Linked DNA regions of Homo sapiens: all the other regions are linked to region 1. Evidence: promoter capture Hi-C in human tissues and cell types (Jung and others, 2019). All regions are on one chromosome and are shown on one strand. Each heading gives the region's core, a stretch centred on a gene start or on the middle of the fragment in contact. The rest is flanking DNA. Distances are from core to core; before and after follow the strand shown. Region 1 holds the start of CYP2A13 (cytochrome P450 family 2 subfamily A member 13). Region 2 holds the start of CYP2B6 (cytochrome P450 family 2 subfamily B member 6). Region 3 overlaps CYP2B6 (cytochrome P450 family 2 subfamily B member 6).

Region 1 (4,032 bases), core at 959-3,458:
GGAGGGGGGTGGGAGTTTGGGGCACCTGTCTCCAGGTAGGGGAGCAGTTGGCAGGTTGTGGTAGGGGCGTCACTGGCGGGCTGCAGCCAGTTACCTGCCCCGTGGAGGTTGCCGTGAACTGGAAGCTTCCCAGCATCATGCGCAACAGTGACAGGAACTCTTTGTCCTCATAGTCAAAGCGGTCCCCAAAGACAATGGAGCTGATGACATTGGAGACTGTGCGGCTCAGGAAGAAGGTGGGATCGATATTGGCGCCTGCAGGTGTGGCGGGAGAAGGGGGTTGGGGAGAGAGTCAACTCAGAGGTCTGAGGAGAGTCAGAATTCCAGGAGGCAGGGCCCTGTTGAGCCGAATCCCAGCGCCAGACTCCAGGGCTGGAAGTGCGGGCCCCTTTCCCCACCTAGTCCCCATCCCCAGGCAGAAAGCGCGGGTTCCCGCCCTCGCACTCGGGGTCCCCTACTCACCGTGCGTGCCCCGGAGGGCGTCGATGAGGAAGCCCGCCTCCTCCTGGATGCGTTCCTCGATGCCGCGCTTGCCCACGCCAAAACCCCTTAGGGTGGCGATGGAGAAGCGCCGGAGCTGCTTGGCGCGCTCCCCGTTGCTGAACGCCACGCCTGGGGAGGTGAACGCGGGGGTGGAGAGAGGTCAGGGGGCGGCGGGAGCAGGAGCGGACCAGCTCCAAGGGGCTCCCCAAGGGTGGAGCAGAGAGGGAGTGGGGTGGGAGAGAGATGGATTCAGCGCGAGTGCCCAGGAGAGCTGCAAACTCAGTCAGAGAAACACGAGAGCACGAGAGAGAGAGAGAGAGAGAGAGAGAGAGAGAGAGAGAGAGAGAGAGAGAGAGAGAGAGAGAGAGAGACCGGGTAGAAAGAATAAGAGAATCAGAAGAGAAGCAGAAAGGCCAGACAGACAGATGCAGAGAAACAGAGGGATACGGGGATACTCCATGGAGGAAGGGAAGGAAGTGGGGAGAGAAAGAGAGAGATGGAGGGAGGGGAAGTGAGATATGGGGAGATCTGGGAGGAGGAAATAAAAATGGTGAAAGATTCTTAAGCTGAACTGGAGAAGAGAGAAAAATATGGAGACAGAAACAGAGAGGATCGGGAAGGAGGACAGACAATTACCAGGAGTTGGAGGCTGGAGATGTGGAAGTAGGAATACCCTGAAATCCTAAGACAGAGGAAGAAGTGGGAGAGGGAAGCAGAGAGAGGAGAAACACGGAGAAGCACAGAAGCCGAGAGCGACAAAAAGACAAATGAAGACAGAGGACCAGGGCTGGAAAACAGAAACCCAGGATGTCCTCAGAGATGGAGAGAGAGGGGAAAGAGGAGACTCCAGTGAGAGAGAAGGAGGAGACGGGGCAGAGAGAGGCAGGGAGGAATCACGACAGGGACGCTGGAGACAGGTGAGGGACGCACAGGGAGAGGCCACGATGAAGGGAGATGGGGAGAGAAGACCAGACAGGGGGCTCTGCCATAGCCTCCAGTGGGCAGGAGAGTCAGGGAGAAGGCTGGGGACACGGAGACCATTGCATCCACCTGGCCACCTTCCCCCTCTTGGGCACCCCCTCACCATAGCCTTTGAAGAGCCAGTCGAAGGTGGCCTGCTCGCCTCGCCCGCTGAACTCCTCAGCCTGGTCCACCAGAGCCTCCTTGACGGCATCATGTCCGCACAGCACCACGACCCGCCGGGGCCCCAAGTGAATGGTGAACACAGGGCCATAGCGCTCACTGATCTGTTGGAGGCAGGTGGGAGTGGTTAGAGGGAGCAGCCCCCACTCTGAATGGGCCCAGCACTGAGATATCATGTACTGGGATGCTTCGCCCCCAGGTTCTCACAGTCAGGGAGCTGGACATCCCAAGATCCTGTCTTTCCTGCTAGGACCCTGATGCTGAAACTCCAAGACTCCCTTTCCTAAGACTCTGGTCCACACTGGTCAATCCCCTGCCACAAAGCCCCAGCCAACTGGGCAGCCCCCACCCCGTGCCACCCATCTCCCTGCCTTAGGACACCTTCATGAGGGAGTTGTACATCTGCTCTGTGTTCAGCTGCAGGTAGTTTCCAATGAAGGGCAATGGGGTGGGTCCCGGAGGCAGCTTCCCCCTGCTCTTCCTCTGCCGCCAGACTGACATCAAGACCATCACAGTCAGGCAGGCCAGCAAGGTCACCAGAAGCAGCCCTGAGGCCAGCATGGTGGCAGTGGGATGATAGATGGTGATGGCTGGGGTGGTTTGCCTTTATACTGCCTGAAAAAGAGGGATGGACTTTGGTTGATTATATAATCACCTCATTTCACCTCCCAACTACACCCCAACCCTGAATCCCACACAGCTTAGGACACAGCCAGCAAGGGAGGAGGAGAGGGACCCCAGGGAAGCTGAACAGGGAGGGGAACTCCAGACTAAATCTGGTACTTCAGGAGGGTTGCTGCAGGGCTGTGGATTTAGGAGCGGGCAACAGATAAACTGTGGAACTGAGGAGTTTGGAATATTTGCACAGGGGAGCACCTGGACTTTGGATTTGGGATCTGGGAGTGAGAATGCACCCCAAAGTTGTGGATTTGGGCATTCCACGGGAGAGGAATCCAAAGGTCTGGGTTTTACTAGGGTGAGATGGAAGTGTGGCTGTGCATCTGGGGGTCTTCTGTTGTGGAGGATGCAGGGTTAAGGGTCTCAGGACGGGGGATTCCAGGCATATGGACTTGAAAGTCTTGGGGCTAGGAAGACCCAGGGCTGTGGGTGTGGAGTTTCTGGGAGGTGGAGTGTGTAGCAAGCCCAGCAGGTGCTCCCAGAAAGCCCAGCAGCCCAGCACTGGGCCCAGGGACTGACTTGATTTTGCTTTGACCCAGAGCTGTCTCTTGATGCCCAGAATCCTCATTGGAACCTCAGAGTGAGGCCAGGATGGGTGCCATAGAACCTCCGCTGCCCATCTCTGGCTGGGAAAGGGGCAGAAGACGAGAGCCATATTTCAGAGGAACTTTCCCCACACGTGGAGAAGAGTACCTCATGTTACCAGTTGGCAGAGGGGATTGGCTAGGTCTGGAGAAATAGTAATAACAACCCTCAAATGCTGGAAAAATCTCAAGTGTCCCAAGGGTTGTAATTTACGAAGAACTCCACTGGTTTCCAACCCAGATTCTTAGGGAAACCCACTAGATTGATTGTATCATCCCTATTAATACTATGATTGTTATTTATGTTTCTCATTTTATATAAAGATCTACAGAGGACAGAAAACAGACAGTGGGCAGGGGACATGTGTGAGTGGCCCTGAACTCCCATCTCTCTTGCTCTGCGTCTTTAGTTCCACTTTCTGGATTTGGTTTTCCTGCCAGTGGAAAGGGAGTGTTTGGGAAGAGAAGACCACGTTTGAGGGTGAGTTAAGTCTCCTTTAAGGGCGATTCCTGCTTTGTCAGGGGCTACTACTATTAGTAGGCAGAGGGAACAATCGCAGAAGAGATTGGGGTAAACTCCAGTATTAGGCACAGAGGCAGATCCTGGGGTGGGTGTGAGTGGAGAAGGGATGAGTAGCCCTCCTGTCCTTCCCTCAAGGAAATTCTTCCTTAGTAAACAGGACAGTTACCCTTTGGTGAGCATGGTCATATATGGGAAGATTAAGTCTAGGTGTGTATGATCTGGTTGAATCTTTGTAACAGTGAGGTTGGTTCATCATGATCATCCTCATTTTGAAGATGAGCAGATCTAGACTCCATAAATCCTCTTGAGTGAGGTCACACAGGGAGTAAGTGAGGGAGCTGGGATGTGAACTTTCTCCTCGCCCCCCTTCATTGACTGGCCTAGATCACCCTGGGAGTCAAGTGCAGGCCAGGCTTAGCAGGAGGTGAGTGCTGGGACTGGCATCAGCAGTGGACACACTGATGACATTGGCGGGTTCTGATATCAGCATCAGGTGTGTCCAGGGAGGGAAAGGCATCGTGTTGGCTTTGGGACTGCCCCCAGGTGTATGCGAGGATGGGAAACAAGTTGGCACTGAACTTGACACCAGGAGAATATTGAAGTCATGTTTGGTGCCAAGAG
Region 2 (4,032 bases), core at 992-3,491, 97 kb after region 1:
TTCTCACAAGATCTGATGGTTTTATAAGAGGCTCTTCCCCCTTGGCTCTCTCTCTTTTTCCTGCCACCTTGTGAAGAAGGTACTTGCTTCTCCTTCACCTTCCATCATGATTGTAAGTTTCCTGCTTCTCATTCACCTTTTGCCATGAATTGTATTTTCCTGGGGCCTCCCCAGCCATGTGGAACTGTGAGTCAGTTACATCCCTTTTGTTTATAAATTACCCAGTCTCAGGTATGTCTTTATAACAGTGTGAGAATGGACTAACACAGCAAGCCTGGCTATCCCAAACTTTTCTACTCTTAATGTTTCTTCTAGTGGGTCTCCAGGATACTATATGTTACCAGGCCAACTACAAATGAATGTCTCTATAAATCAAGTTATTTTATAGCAAGCTCTGGTCCTTAATTACCATCATGCCCTGAACAAAATCTATGACCAATTGGACTCTAATACTATTGAACTATCTTTATTGTCTGAACTTCGAATTATTCGATTTTGATCAGTTTGGTTCATGGACACACTCAAGTTAAAAGAGACTATTAACAGCCTTTCTTCTCTCTGTGGACAGTGGACCTTATCTATACCCCCAAGTCCACATTCCTCAAAGTTTATTACAGGCCCAGTGACTTCATTTTCTTCGTATTACCCTCCTGAGAGCCATCATAACAGTCTCCCTGATGTGTTGTATTTTCTCAAGAGTCTTGGCCGGGTGCGGTGGCTCACACATGTAATCCTAGCACTTTGGGAGGCCGAGGCAGGTGGATTGCTTGAGCCCAGGAGTTTAAGACCAGTCTGGGCAACATGGCAAAACCCTGTCTCTACAAAAAATACAAAAATTAGCTGGGCGTGGTGGCATGCACCTGTAGTTCCAGCTACTTGGGGGGCTGAGGCAGGAGGATCACTTGAGCCTTGGGAGGTCAAGGCTGCAGTGAGACGTGATCATGCCACAGCACTTCAGCCTGGCTGACAGAGTGAGGCCCTGTCTCAGAAAAAAAAAGAGTCTTAAATGCTCATATGCAGCCATTCTTTGTACATCCAGTGGGCTCATTACAGTGGGAACAACAAAAACATGAAGAAAAGGTAAAGAATCACTCAACTACGTTGACATTGTCCATTGTGAATTCCATACTGAGAGCAGACAAGTCCATTATGATGGTGACAGAAGTAATGTTGATGCCCAAGGTTTTGGTCAATCTCAAAATTTTGAGGCTGACCAAAAGGGGAGAATTGTTTAATTAAATTAAATTTGACCTAAAGCTCTCTCTGTAGAGTGAACTGCAACCTAACTTGGGAGTATATTCTTTTTTTTTTTTTTTTTTTTGAGAAGGAGTCTCACTCTGTCACCCAGGATGGAGTGCAGTGGTAAGATTTTGGCTCACTGCAACCTCTGCCTCCTGGATTCAAGTGATTCTCCTTCCTCAGCCTCCTGGGTAGCTGAGATTACAGGCACGCATCACTATGCCCAGCTAATATTTGTATTTTTAGTAGAGACAAGGTTTCACCATGTTGGCCAGGCTGGTCTCGAACTCCTGACCTCAGGTGATCCACCACCTCGGCCTCCAAAAGCACTGGGATTACAGGCATGAGCCACTGCACCTGGCCCAAATGAATATATTCTTGTGACAAGTAGCCAAGTGTTGGCTAATCAGAGCAGCTGGGCTTTCAGTCCACACAGGCTGCAAACTGCTCAGATTGTGACCAAGTAAGGCAAGCTGTGATCTGTGGCCAATCAGGCTGTTTCTGTATGTCACCTCCTTTTTCTGCCTGTAAATACCACTTGACCATACTGCCGTGTGGTGTCTTTCCTGGTTTAGGGAGCTGTCCAACTCATGAGTCACTTCTTTGCTCAAATAAACTCTGCTAAATTTAATTTGATGCTTTTCTCCTAATAATACCACCCATCATGCTTCACCATGCTCCGTACTCACCAACCATGCCCGTGCCACCCCTGACTCTGGAAGTCTGCCTCATTCTGTTTGGTGAAGCTTCCCCAAGTACCAAGGCAAGAAGCAGCTCACCCTCAGACCCCATTCGTCTGTGTCTTACCCTCAGAAAGGATTTGAGTAGGCCTCTTCTATCCATCTGCAGAAGGTTTCCCAAAAGGGGCAGAGGGCGGGGCCCTGGTGGGAGGCGGTCATGGGTGTTAGGGTGGCGCTGAACCAGGAGTAGCAAGAGTCCTGTGAGGAGTGCAAGGAAGAGGAGGACGCTGAGTTCCATGGTCCTGGTCTGACTGCCCTGCACCCTGCTGCAGCCTCCAACTGGGCCTTTTATCCTGACCCTGCCTCTGCACCCTGTTATAAAATTTCATCCATTCCCCACCTCCTTTTTCATCATCATCCAGGAGCATTAGCTTAGAAAAAGTTGTTAGGGAACCCAGACTTCCTGCTTGGGCAACCCAGTGACCTGATGCCTATCCCTTTACCCACTCTGTAGATATTGGCAGGGATACAGTGGTAGAGATATCAAAGTCCAGGTGAGCAAGTGAATGTGTGGGTGTGTGGGTTTGTGGGTATATGTATGTCTATTTTTGTAAGCATAGGTGAGCTTGCACTTTTTTACTTAGCTTTGTCTGTTTGTCTGTGCTTGCATGCATTTGTCCATGCCTGCTTGCATCCCTGTATGTGCTTATATGATTTTTACATGTAAAGGGGTGTTTGAATTTATGCAAATGTACTGGCGTATATTTCTGTGGTTGAATCTGGGGGTGCTTATGTGTGTATCCTTGCATGTGTATGAGCTTCCTTGTATTTATACAGTTTTATATACGAAAGTGCATTTACATTTGTGTGTTGTGGAGGTGGTGGTAGTGCATGTTCAAAACTGAGAGGCTGGCTGGGTGCGGTGGCTCACACCTGTAATCCCAGCACGTTGGGAAGCTGAGGGGGGCAGATCAATTGAGGTCAAGAGTTCGAGACCATCCTGGCCCACATGGCAAAACCCCATCTGTACTAAAAACACAAAAATTAACCGGGCGTGATGGTGGGTACTTTTAATCCCAGCTACTCGGGAGGCTGAGGCAAGAGAATCACTTGAACCTGGGAGGTGGAGGCTGCAGTGAGCCAAGATTACACCACTGCACTCCAGCCTGGGTGACACAGCAATACTCCATCTCAAAAAAAAAAAAAAAAAAAAAAAAAGGAGAAGCTGATGAAAATAAGGAATTATTCAATTCAATCAAATTTGGCCTACTGCCTTTGTAGCATAGCAAACTGTAACCTAGCAATACATGAACCAATTGTGTGTATCTGTGTGTGCTGGTGTATTTGTGCTGGTGTGTTGGTGGATCTCCTAGCCCCTCTCTTTGGAAGCCTGCAGATGCTGAGTCTATCTCCAGTGTCCCCTCCTTCATCCGCCCTTCTGTGACAGCCACAGGTGGAAGTGGTCGGAGAAACAGAAGGAGGAGCAAGAGATGCAGAACTGGTGAGTCTCAGAGGAAGAGGTGGTCAGTTGGAAGGAGACAGAAACTGAGACCTGGCAGGTACAGCGATCAGGTCCTCTTGGTTTCTGATCACTCTAACTAGTGCTAAGGAGTTTCTTCCCTGCCTCTGACTATCTTCACGGTGCAGGAAATTTCTCTGGCTCTCTCTCTGTCTGACTTTGTGTCTCTGTTTTCCCCCTGGAGACTCTTGAGCTCCAGGTGTGTGCAAACTGAGTCCAGTTTGATTGATGTCTACTGGACTCCCATATGTCTCTATCCTCACTGTGCACCTTCACCCACACATCCTCTGACAGGGTCAGTCCATCTTTGCAAAACGTGGGTGTGAATGTGTGCGTGTCTGCCTGTCTCATCCTACGCCTGACTTTTGACCATGAGGCAACATCTTTCTTGCAATGTTAAGCAAACCCTTTGCTGGATCCAGGACCTGAACCCGAAGTTACTTTGACCCAGGAGGAGCAGACAAACAGTCCTATTTGTAAGAGGTGGAAACTGTACTTTCCTGACCCTGAAGAGGTGGCAGCATGGACTTTCCTGAACCAAGGGCCTCGGTCTTGCTGTGCTGTGTCATCTGACACTAAGATTGGGTGCTCATT
Region 3 (4,032 bases), core at 512-3,011, 74 kb after region 1:
CATGTGTCTGTGTCTGTGTCTCTAGGCTGTCTTCTAGTCTCAGCCTGAGATCCACAGGCTTCAAGAGCTCAAGGGGGGAAAAGCCCAATTGTATATAAATTGTGAATGGGACTGATGCGTATGAGACAGGGAGGGTCTATGGCTTCCACTGATTCTCAGAGGTGCAAGGAACCCCCAGTAGATTCTAAACCACAGATTGGGAGAAAAATAAGAACAAAGGGTGCTGGAAAAAGCTCAGGCAGAGACAAAGGGAGCCTTTCCCTTCACTTCAGTGTTTCATAATCTGCAAACCTTGGAAAGGCCATGTCAAGTGTGAGTTTTCAGGCATTCCCTATGCCTGTCAAGTTGTTGGACAAGTGTGTCTATGTGGAGGTGTTTGGAAAAGTGTCCACATCCCTTTGGCATACCCAGAAGGTGGGTGACATGAGCTTAGAAACAGGCAGGTCTCTGGGCCTGTTCTTCTGTAACTCTTTGTGTGACCTAACATTTTTCACAACAGCCTGAGGCTTATTATCTCCCTCTCATCACGCCCTCCCCATCTCTGGGGCCGTCTGTTTGGACACCTTTCGAATTTCTTTGGCTGCAGTACCCTTTTGGCTTGGGTTATACCTTTCTTTCTGCCCCTGGCAGCCCTACTCCTGTCTTTTTCTCTGTCTATACCTGTCAGACACAGCTTTTCTTCTTTTCCTCTCCTTTTTTTGGCTTTCTTCCATCTTGCTTAACTTCCTATCTCCATCTATTTGAATCTGATTTCTCCCCAATCTCTTTCTCTCTCATTCTTTCTTTTCATCTCCCTCTAAAGATACCTTATTTGTCTTGTTCATTCTTTCTTCCTCTCTTTTTATGTCACTCTCTCTTTTTCCTATCTCTTATTCTGTTTCTCTCCTTTCCCTCCTTTCTCCCCTCCTCCTTCCTTTTCCTACTCTCTCTCCTCTTATTCCTCCTCCTCCTCCTTCTCCTTACGTGACTCTCTCTCTCTCTGTGTCTCTCTCTCTTCCTCTCTGTATACTGTCTGAGGTTTGCCCTCTGTCTTTCTGCCACTGGCTCCCCATCTCTATCTCTATGTGTTCCCTCTTTGTCCCTAACTCTGTTTCTCAGTCTCATTATCTTTGTTACTTATCTGTCTCTGTCCTTATTTCCCTACATCTCTGCCTCTCTTAAAACAAATTAGCAGGCCAGTCGCAGTGGCTTATGCCTGTAATCCCAGGACTTTCAGAAACTGAGGTGGGCATATCACAAGGTCAGAAGATCAGCACCATCCTGGCTAACACGGTGAAACCCAGTCTCTACTAAAAATAAAAAAAAATAGCCAGGCATGGTGGCATGCGCCCGTAGTTTCAGGTACTCGGGAGGCTGAGGCAGGAGAATCACTTGAACCTGGGAGGCAGAGGTTGCAGTGAGCTGTGATCGTGACACTGCACTCCAGCCTGGGCAACACAGGAAGACTCCGTCTGAAGACAAAAAAAAAAAAAGAAACTTCAGATAGCAAAATTGAGAGAAGACATTGACATTCAAGCCATCACCACACATGTTCCCAATTTTCATTGAAGATAAAATGTGGAAGGAGGTCACTGTACTGCGCAAAACCGGGGGCTGGGCCAAACCCTGGATCACTGAAGTCACTGATGAAACTCAAGACTGGGGGTTTGTTTCTGGGGCCTTTCATGGATGGTGCATGTTAAATTCAATTAAATTTGGCCTAAAGCAGCCTCCCTACATAACAAATTGTAATGTAACTCAACATGTAAACAAACTTGAGAGTATATTCTTGTAACAAGTAACCTTGGACAATCAGGGCAGCCAAGCTTCAGCCAGTCACAGGCTACAAGCTGCCCAGACATGCTCAGATAAGGCAAACACAGAGCTGTAACCAATCAGGCTGTTTCAGTACCTCAGTTCCTTTCCCTGTGGATAAATAGTGCCTGACCACATTGCTGGATGGAGCTCTCTGAACCTTTACTGGTTCCTTGTGCTGCCCAATTCATGAATTGTTTCTTTGTTCAGATAGACTCTGCTAAGTTTAATTTGTCTAAAGTTTTTCTTTTAACCAGCCAAAGAGTAGAGGATGAGAACTGGGACAAGTCAGAGCACGTCAAGACCTTTTCCACCTTCCCAGTGCTAGACCATAAATCCAAACTCCTCCTGCAACCTTCAAGGTCCTGCCCAGATGAGCCCTTTGTCTTATTTCCTTCTGCAATCTACACCCAAGGCTCACTGGACTTCCTATAGGTTCTCAATGGTGCCATATCACGTTTCTACCTTTGGCCTTTGTCCTTGCTGTTTCCTTTGCCTGGAACACACTTTGCAATGGTTGATTGATGCTCACCCATGAACATGTTAGCTTGGAAGCCAGTTCCTCTGGTAAGCTTTTCCTTACGGACCCACCACAAGATTAGCTACTATTTCCTATTTTGTGCTCCCAAAGCTCCCTTTAGAGCACTTATCACAATTATGTCTAATTATAATAATAATTGCCCTTGTGAGCATGTCCTTTGTGCCAGGCAGTTCTAAGCATGTTGCAGGCATTCATTCATTTCATGAGATGATTATTTTATTATTATTTGATGAATGCCCATCTTCCCTGCTGGACTTTAAATTTCCTGGGGCAGGAACCCTGTCTCTGTGTGACTTGTTTGATGCATTATCTTCAGCCCCCAGTACAGCACTGGGCTTACAGTGGTGCCCAACAGATTTTTTCTTTTTAAGAAAATGAACTCACTGAGGTTTAGAGATGTTAAAATACTTGCCCAAGGTCCTGCTTGCCAAGATGTGCCTTTGGGAATGTAATCTTCTTTCTCAAGCCTCCTTATAGGGTTGTAGTGAAGATGGAATGGGATAAGGCAGGTGAAGCAATCAGAATATATTAAGTGCTCAAATAATCAGTATCTCTCGTTGTTTTTCTCAAGTTGGGGATAGTACCTGCCCTCTGGTGTCTGGGAAAGAAATTGTGGGTCCAGCTTACCTAAGGAGAAGGGGATAAAAGCTTCAGTCTTTTTCAGTGCCCCATTGGCATCCAGAAAGTGGTCAGGATTGAAGGCGTCTGGTTTTTCAAAGTAGTGTGGGTCATGGAGAGCAGTGCTCAGGATGAGAAATACTTCTGTGTCCTGAGGGAGGATCACAAGATCAAAAGATATTGCCATTCCCTCCAACCCTCCACACACTCCACAAAAAAGAAATACAAAAAACAAAAACAACGGGACTCAATTAAGGAGCTAACAAAAGGTTGAGTTCGGGGATTAAGAGAATCCAGGATGCCCAAACAGGAGGGCTATGGGGTTCCAGCCGGTCTTACCTTGGGGATGATGTACCCTCGGAAGCTGGTGTGTTGGGTGACAATGTGGGGCACACCCATGGGGAGAAGGTCGGAAAATCTCTGAATCTCATAGATGACTGCCTCTGTGTATGGCATTTTGGCTCGGTCATGAAGCTCTGGAGGGCGATGTGGGCCAATCACCTGTTCAATCTCCCTGTAGACTCTCTCTGTACAGAAAAGAAGACCAATGAATCTCATTTTAAAGAGGCATTTCAGGCCAGGCATGGTGGCTCATGCCTGTAATCCCAGCAATTTTGGAGGTTGAGGTGGGTGGATTCCTTGAGGTCAGGAGTTCAAGATGAGCCTGGCCAACATGGCAAAATCCCGTCTCTCCTAAAAATACAAAAAATTAGCTGGGTGTGCTGGTGCACACCTGTATTCCTAGCTACTCAGGAGGCTGAGGCAGGAGAATCACTTGAACCCAGGAGGTGGAGGTTGCAGTGAGCCGAGATCATGCCACTGCACTCTAGACTGGGTGACAGAGCAAGACTCCATCTCAAAAGAAAAAAAAATTTTTTTAAAAAGAGACCTTTCAGCAAGGACACTACTTTCTATTGACCAATGAAAAACCTATAGTAAAGGGTTAGATCCTTGATACCCCTCAAAGTAATCAGCATGGGGTGAGGGGAGGAGGGAGGAAGCAACAAGAATTCTCACTGCTTGAAATCTAATGAATATTACAGATCCTCTTCCCACATGCCCAGGTACACACACACACA

What was found. Contacts are between HindIII fragments. The study calls those that stand out against the background at their distance.
Region 2: a contact is called between the fragment with the promoter of CYP2B6 here and the fragment with the promoter of CYP2A13 in region 1, in 2 of the 25 tissues and cell types used here (IMR-90 fibroblasts and adrenal gland).
Region 3: a contact is called between a fragment that was not itself captured here and the fragment with the promoter of CYP2A13 in region 1, in 5 of the 25 tissues and cell types used here (H1 embryonic stem cells, bladder, dorsolateral prefrontal cortex and 2 more).

Annotation. Positions count from the first base shown.
Region 1 is chr19:41,086,627-41,090,658 of GRCh38, reverse strand. CYP2A13 (cytochrome P450 family 2 subfamily A member 13) reads right to left here and starts at 2,208. Exons shown (of 9, transcript NM_000766.5): 1 at 2,008-2,208; 2 at 1,568-1,730; 3 at 463-612; 4 at 95-255. The coding sequence starts at 2,187. The HindIII fragment of the contact is 9,937 bases long and covers 1-4,032 here.
Region 2 is chr19:40,989,491-40,993,522 of GRCh38, reverse strand. CYP2B6 (cytochrome P450 family 2 subfamily B member 6) reads right to left here and starts at 2,241. Exons shown (of 9, transcript NM_000767.5): 1 at 2,047-2,241. The coding sequence starts at 2,217. RefSeq lists cis regulatory regions at 2,476-2,499, 3,874-3,886, promoters at 2,236-3,901, 2,202-4,032 and enhancers at 3,928-3,947, 3,930-3,977. The HindIII fragment of the contact is 18,373 bases long and covers 1-4,032 here.
Region 3 is chr19:41,011,746-41,015,777 of GRCh38, reverse strand. CYP2B6 (cytochrome P450 family 2 subfamily B member 6) reads right to left here. Exons shown (of 9, transcript NM_000767.5): 7 at 3,293-3,480; 8 at 2,963-3,104. Among named protein-coding and RNA genes, the nearest start is that of CYP2B6, 22 kb to the right of the region's middle. The HindIII fragment of the contact is 4,745 bases long and covers 1-4,032 here.